Regions from separate parts of the Homo sapiens genome. Here region 1 is linked to region 2. The links are contacts of gene promoters, found by promoter capture Hi-C in blood cells and fetal thymus (Javierre and others, 2016). All regions are on one chromosome and are shown on one strand. The core of a region is centred on a gene start or on the middle of the fragment in contact, and the rest is flanking DNA. Distances in the headings are between cores, read along the strand shown. Region 1 overlaps FHIT (fragile histidine triad diadenosine triphosphatase). Region 2 holds the start of PTPRG (protein tyrosine phosphatase receptor type G).

Evidence for each region. Contacts are between HindIII fragments. The CHiCAGO score rates a contact against its expected background, and 5 or more counts as called.
Region 1: a fragment that was not itself captured here is called in contact with the fragment with the promoter of PTPRG in region 2 in 1 of 17 cell types (neutrophils); the score reaches 5.2 in neutrophils.

Annotation. Positions count from the first base shown.
Region 1 is chr3:60,603,848-60,607,801 of GRCh38, forward strand. All of the region lies in intron 4 of FHIT (fragile histidine triad diadenosine triphosphatase), which reads right to left. Among named protein-coding and RNA genes, the nearest start is that of MIR548BB, 12 kb to the right of the region's middle. The HindIII fragment of the contact is 2,101 bases long and covers 1,324-3,424 here.
Region 2 is chr3:61,559,893-61,563,358 of GRCh38, forward strand. It overlaps PTPRG (protein tyrosine phosphatase receptor type G), which reads left to right and starts at 1,679. Exons shown (of 30, transcript NM_002841.4): 1 at 1,679-2,480. The coding sequence starts at 2,396. RefSeq lists an enhancer at 1-456. The HindIII fragment of the contact is 7,216 bases long and covers 1-3,466 here.

The DNA of each region.
Region 1 (3,954 bases), core at 1,124-3,623, 960 kb before region 2:
TTAGGCTCCTTTAATTAGCAGTACCTAACATTTCCTGAGCATTTGCTATGTGCCCGGCTGCATGCCACCATACTTTATAGGTATTTTGTTATTTAATTCTCACAGTAACTATAAGGTAATAATAATAATGGTGACGAAGAGACTAAGAACAGCTCAGAGTTGTTGAGTGTCTACTATGTACTAGGCACTGCTCCAAGTGCTTTTCAGGCAATAACATTCTTCAGTAGGAAGTACTTATAGCAATGGGAGTACATTGTGCAGCAGAAGAGAAGGCTATCAAGGCCAGCTTTTAAAAATACAAGGATTTACATTTAGTACAGTGAGAGAAAGTGCACAGGTGAGTCTGGCCTTGTGTAGAGAGAAAACATAAAGAGAAAAAACTGGCAGAACCACGCAATTAATTAAGTACTTTTGACCACAAAAGTGAGGGGAATCCAGGGTAGAGCAGGACTCCGACCAAGAAGATATAAAGGCCTTGGTCAGCTTCTGGTTGTCGTGGAAATGGGATTTCAACCATTATAATGAGATCAAATCATATGCTAACAAAGAAATCAGTAATTAGAGTTGGGGCCACCCACAGAGCTCACCTCCATCTTGGGATAAGATCTAGGAAGAGCCAGACATGCATTTTTGCCGCAGATAAAATCCCAAAAGGAAAGGTTTTAAGTATGAAAGGGTTGGGCTGAAATAACATACTCAAGAATATTGCTATTCTGAGTGTTGCTTCTGCTTCCAGCTCTGACCAGGTCACTGCAGATAACAAATTATGTCATTTCTTATAGCTCTATTCCACTCATCAGCTCCCCTTCTATGCAGGAAGGAGCATGAAATGGGAAAAAAACCGAGGTTCCCACTCTTGGTGTCCTAAGTGATCAGCCACAGGAAGAAAAAGATCTCTGCTCATTTTCCCTCTCACTTACTATTGCCCAGGAATCTTGGATCTCTTCAGAATAGTGGGCAAACTGAGAGAAAGCAAGTTCATTTAATCCTCAAAACAACCCTATAGATTCCATTCTGTTATCATCATCCCCATTTCACAGATTTCACAATGGACAGGGAGGAGCAGCATTGAAGGGATCAGTAACCTGCCCAAGGTCCATTTTAACACAAGAGCTTTCTGACTTCATTCAGGCTCCCCTCTCTGTGATTGTGATTTCTCTCATGTCTAAACCATTCACATTTTTTAAAATTAGGATTTCTATGCTTAAGTATGTACCTTTGTTCACAACTAAGTTGAGGATTCTATACTCAAACACACACACACAGAGAGAGAGAGAGAGAGATGCAGTTGATTTTCCCCAATACTAATGTCCATGAACTGAAAGCTTAGGCAATAACTTAGTATAGCCACAGCTTTGGTTTGGTTCAGTTCTAGGGTACTGCTTTGCAAATTAAAGGTGTAATCCCTTCAAATCACTGCAATAAAAGTGATTTGAAATCATACTATTTGCAGTCATAATAGAAACAAATGCCTACTTAACTACTCATGGCTCAGCTCTGGTGAGAACACATCAATAGAGTAAAATGCTTTTAGCTTTCCAGAGAAAGGTTCCACCTGACAGATACCAAGAGATCAAATATTCACTCCGCTTAGGACAAAGAAGTGTACGGATTAGGACATACTTGAGAAGTCAGTTTCAGAAGGCACCAGTTTAGAAAAGAACCCTGAAAGACCTCTACCATTTATTTATATTTCAATGTATTCATTCCATTTCTTCCTATGTCTTTTCATTCATTTGTTTATCTCCTTGGTCTGTGTGCTGCAGGCTAAAACTACAGCAATTAAACACAAGGTCCTTGCATCCAGGAGTTCTTCTCAATCCAGTAATGGAAACAACTAACATCATATACTATTTTGCTTTATTTTCTGCTAGAGGTACGGACAGGAGGTGCTGTGGGAACACAGCTAATGGGGCACCTGGTTCTTGCCTATGAGAGTTTTGAGAAGGATACCTGAAGTAGGGTTTAGAAACTGACCATCACAGGGGATGGGAGAGGAGGAAAGATAAAGTTATAAGGAATTCTCAAACTTTGAACATGTGAATGTCCTATATGTATCTGTAAATAGTATATAAAAACACTATAGTATCTGACTGCTCTGTCACAGATGAAAACCTTCAAAGAGAAGCTGATCATAGACACAATTATAGAAACCAGGGGATGTTATCTCGCCCAAGTCTGCCTGACTACTTTTAAGGATGCTAAATTCCTAATCTCTCAAGGATGACATTCTTCTTGCCCCAGAGTGTGCTAGAGCCAGAGGGACCAACTCTTTCTCCCTAACTTCCTACCCAACAAAGAATCCTCCTCTACAATATTCCTAATGGATGTTTACTATAGCAAACATCACTTGTTCAGTTTTGGTTCCTCAGTCCCTATTCCCTCATTGTAATAGCATTTTTTTTTTTTTTGAGATGGAGTCTCGTTCTGTCACCCAGGCTGGAGTGCAGTGACGCAATCTTAGCTCACTGCAACCTCTGCCTCCCGGATTCAAGTGATTCTCATGCCTCAGCCTCCCAAGTAGCTGGGACTACAGATGCCCACTGCCATGCCCAGGTAATTTTTTGTGTTTTAGTAGAGATGGGGTTTCACCATGTTACCCAGGCTGGTCTCAAACTCCTGAGTTCAGGCAATCTGCCCGCCTCAGCCTCCCAAAGTGCTGGGATTACAGGCGTGAGTCACCGAGCCCAGCCTGTGATAGCATCTTGATTCACTTTTAGGGACTTTTCTCCTATTATAAGCCACCATTAGGATAGTGAATTGGGTGCCTTTTCATTCCACTCCAGAATTTGAGGTCCTGGAGACTTCTGGTATATTTTCTGCTGTAATGGAAAAAGGATGAGCATGTGTCCTAAGCTCAGTTAATTGGACCTTCTCTTCCAGGGCTCTGAATCCTAAGAAGAGTGACATGCCACTCACTCACTCATTGCTGTAATGGCTTCTTAATAGCCAAGTAGACTCCATCTTGATACTTTCCTGTTTCTAAGCCTAGTCCCTCCTGCCCGCATCTTGATTCTGTTAACTCCCCGATATCCTTCTATTTGTAACAAATTCCTTTTCTACTTATATTAACCTCAGTCTCTGTTACCTGCTTCCACTGGAACTCTGATTCTGCTTGAATCCTTCCATTAATGGGAATATTACTACATTGAGAGGCTGCTCATTCCATTGCTGGACCTCTATATTTGTTTCAAAAGTTGTTAATTCAAGCTAAAGCCGGGTTCTCTATTACTAGTGTCTGTCATCAGGAATTAGAAAGAATAAATTTTAGTCCCTCTTCCATATGGCAGTCACTATAGTATCCAAGGAAGGGCAAATAATCATTGATAACCACACCACTAAAGCCCTTCTCCCAGCTGAAAACCACCAGGGTTTTTATAAATCTTCTAGAATAATATAAATTTTCAGACACCACAGAAATAGAAGCTTTGAATTGCCGATGAGCAGATTAATCATTTTCAGATGGTCTCAGGGAACTAAACAGTCACTTCCTCGGTGGGCCTCTTTCGAAGAGGGCACTTTCATGTTTATTACTTGCAAGGGTTGGCAAATGGTAGAATTCTTTTTTAGGATGATAAGGATTTATATTTCTATCTAGTCTGCCACTAATTAAAAGTATATTATCTTCCCTACTGAAGTTGGGGTAATTGGTGGTTATTTTCAGAGCAACTCATCAGGGTGAGACAGATTCTTTCTGATTGAGGTAGCAGAGGTGTTGAACATTCATTGTGTACTGAGTTCACGTTTCTAGTATCACAATTTCCCACACCACATGCGTGATAGATGTGTCTTCAACATTTGCAAACAATTCCAAGTCATTTCTCCCTTCAATTATTCCCTCTTCTCTGACATCCTAACAAGGTTTTCATTTTGTACTAATTTCACTAATTTAGGAAAACTTTTGTCTGCAATACATACATATACATATATACACACATATACATATATACACAC
Region 2 (3,466 bases), core at 429-2,928:
CCCATACGTAACTTTTCAAAGGTTTTTCTTTTGGAAGTGTGGGTGTGAAAATGCTTCCTTAATCACATCGAACGGGAGGATCTCCGACCATCTGTACTTTATTTGAAAACCTAGCATCCGGTTGGGATGTTTGGGTGGGTGGAGGACCCTGCCGTGTTGGGATGAAACAGCAGGGACACGTTTAAAACACAAGAACCATGCGCGGTGGCTCACGCCTGTAATCTCAGCACTTTGGGAGGCTGAGGCAGGCGGATCACAAGGTCAGGAGTTCGAGACCAGCCTTGCCAAAACGGTGAAACCCCGCCTCTACAAAAAAAACCAAAATAAAACAAAAAACAAACAAAAAAAACCACCAAAAAAATAATCAGCCGGGCGTGGTGGCGGGCGCCTGTAGTCCCAGCTACTCGGGAGGCTGAGGCAGGAGAATCGCCCGAACCCGGGAGGCGAAGGTTGTAGTGAGCCGAAATCGAGCCACTGTACTCCAGCCTGGGCGACGGAGCGAGACTCCGTCTCAAAACAAAACAAAACAATCCCACGTCAAGATCGCTTTGAAACACAGGCAGAAAAATTAGGCAAAAAATGTCAAACGGCTAATTACCTTGGCTCAGTTACACATTTACTCGAAAGCCCGCCTCCCCCACTTTTAGCCCCAGCGTTAAGAATGTAAAATAGGGCGCTTAGAAGTCTAAGCGATAAAGATCTTCTTACCGAGAGCCAAGGGACAAAACTCATTACAGATAAGCCTAGTCCTCCCATTTCCCCCGGACGCCTCTCCCCGATTGCTAAAGAAGCAGCCGCTCCCCGGGTAGCTGCCAGGAAATCAGTCCGGCCCCGCGGCGCTGCTTTCACCCTGCAGGGTGTAAGAGGCGCACTTCCTGCGCCCTCCCCGCGGCCAAACCGGGGTGCGGGAACCTTCTCCAGAGAAGCTGCGAGTTGGGGAAACTCCGCCACCGATCCATCGTGGCGCCGGGAAAGGGGATGCGGGGCTCGGAAGGGCTAGATTTCGCAATCCTGGGATCGACATTCCTCCCCTCCCCCACTTTCCCCAGCCTTGGACTGGGCCAATGAAAGCCCGAAAAAGAAAAAAAAAAAAAATTAAATCTCAATGTAGCCGGAGTGCAAAGGCCGCTCGGCTTTGTTTCCCGGCGGGGGAATGCGCTGTGTTGGAGGCGCGAACAGGAGCCGCAGACGGTGAGCCTCACCGCTGCAAATGCCAGGGCAGTGAAGCCGAACAGAAAACCCCATCGCTTTAAAAAGGCAGCTGTCCGCCCTCCCCCTTTCCCCTCGCCAGGGCGAGGGGCCCCTCAAGTCCGGGATCCGCGAGCTGCGCGGAGGATCTCGCCAAACCCGAGCACCGTGCGGCGTCTTTTAAGAGCTCGAACAACGGGAATCCAGCAAAAAACAAGCCGGCCCCAGAAGGCAGCCTCCCTCCTCTCTCCGCGCACGGGCTACAATCGCCCCCAGTCCCCAAACTGTCCCAGTAGAGGCCGCGCGGAGAGAGCAGAGCCGAGGGACCCAGCGCAAGGCGGGAGCCAAGCGCGGCTGCTTTAAGAACGCGGAGAGCGCGCGCCCGCCGCCAGCTGGCCCGGGCTGCGCGCCCCCGCCGCCACCGCGCGCCCCCTGTTCGCTCGCTCCTTCGCTCGCCGGCTTTAAAGTCTCTGCCAGGATCCATGCTCACATGTTACTTCCTGTATGGAGGCATGGCCAGTTTCCAGCCCCGCGCTCTTCGTTCCTTCCCAGCCTGCGCCGGAGCCACAACTTTCAGGAGCATGGACTGAAGGCGCCCTCGCCCCAGCGCCCCTCTGAGATCCTTTGTGTTTTCCTCCGTTTCCTCCGGCCGTTTCTATTTTGGGGGGCTCTCCGCTCCCCCTGCCTCTCCCCTCCCCTTCCCCTCTCGCAAACATGCCTCCTTCCTTCCCGGGGCCCTGGAAGGAGCTGCCTGCCTGAAGCCCGGAGACGCCGCGCCGCGCTCAGCCCCGCCGCCGCCCGCCGGCTCTCGGGCTGTGCTGCGCTGCCGACTCAAGTTGGGGATCCTCGGCTGCTCGCCGCCGCCGCCCGCGGTCCCTGCCTGCCCCAGGCCCGGGGCATCGCCGCCGGCCGCCGACTCCGCGCCCTGCCCGATCGGCTCTCTCCTTTTTAAACGGAAAGCAGCCTTTCTCCGCCGAGAGGATCGTCCCCAGCGTGGCTCTGCGTTCCCGGTCACTTTTTGAGATTTTCCGGGGGGCGCTCGGCGGCTTCCCGGATTCCAAGGGGACTCGGGCCGCCGAGCGCGGGGGGCCCGTGGAGCGGGCGAGCCGGGGAAGCGCCCCGGCTTAGCGGAGGCTCGCACGGAGGCAAGAACTTATTCAACAAGTTTACCTCCCTGCTTTCCTCTTTTCGATGTGCGTTTTCGGACATGCGGAGGTTACTGGAACCGTGTTGGTGGATTTTGTTCCTGAAAATCACCAGTTCCGTGCTCCATTATGTCGTGTGCTTCCCCGGTGAGTGCCGGCCGCCGAGGGGATGCGGCCCCGGCCGGCGCGCGTTGGGGATGCGGAGTTGTCGCCTGGGCGCGGAGCTCCGGCGCCCGTCCGGGAGACCCTGGAGAGGGTGGAGGGTGGCCCGGCGCCCGGATAGGAGAAAAGGATTGCTCCGCTGGCTTGGATGATGTTTAGGGAGGCAGGCTAGTGGTCGAGGAAGGTGGAGGCAGGGGCTGGCCGGGGAGGGGGCTGGGGGACGCGGGGGTCTGCTCCCGCTCCCTTTTGGGGGTCCTGGGGAGCTGGAATCGGGAGAAAGGGGGACTTGCTTTGCTGACTCGTCGCCGATCGGGAGAACTCGAGTTGTGGGGCGGTTGGGGAGACTGAGGCCATGGAAAGGATGCTTCTGTGGGTTTGGGGGGCCCGGGATGAGCCCCCTCGCTCTGGCGGGTATTGAAGGAACTCAGAAGGTGGGGGTTTGCTTTGCTGTTCTCCATCCCTTTGGGAGGGCTAGGTTTCGGGGAATGGAAGTCGGAGGCTGGCTGCGGAGGACTGAGGATGTGTGGGGAGCAGCCTGCGTTCTGGGTCGGGGGCGTCCTCCCTCTCTCTGGGGGCTGGGGCGCGGGCAGCACTTCGGTGCCGGCGTGAGGCAGCCTCCTTGGGCGCAGTGAGACGGCAGGGCGCAGGCGGTTTCGGAGAGATCCGTGTCTCCCCTAGCCCCGGCCCGTGGCCCTTTCCCTCCGCTGCTCTGCTCGATTGGATTGCCTGGGTCTGGACGCGGGGAGGGGGCGGGGGCGGTTTCGGCGGCCGGGGCGGTTTCGGCGGCCGGGTTGCTGTTCGCGCCGGGGCTGATTTTTTTCCTGTCTCGCGCGCCCTGCCTACCTTCATCTTTGCCCTTTTGCAGGCTGTTCGCGGCTGGCAGACCCAGTCTCGCTCCTTTCTGGCCAGGTTAAGACAGGAACAATACTGGCCGTTGATAAGAATAAATCACCGCACGTAACGGTGTGCGG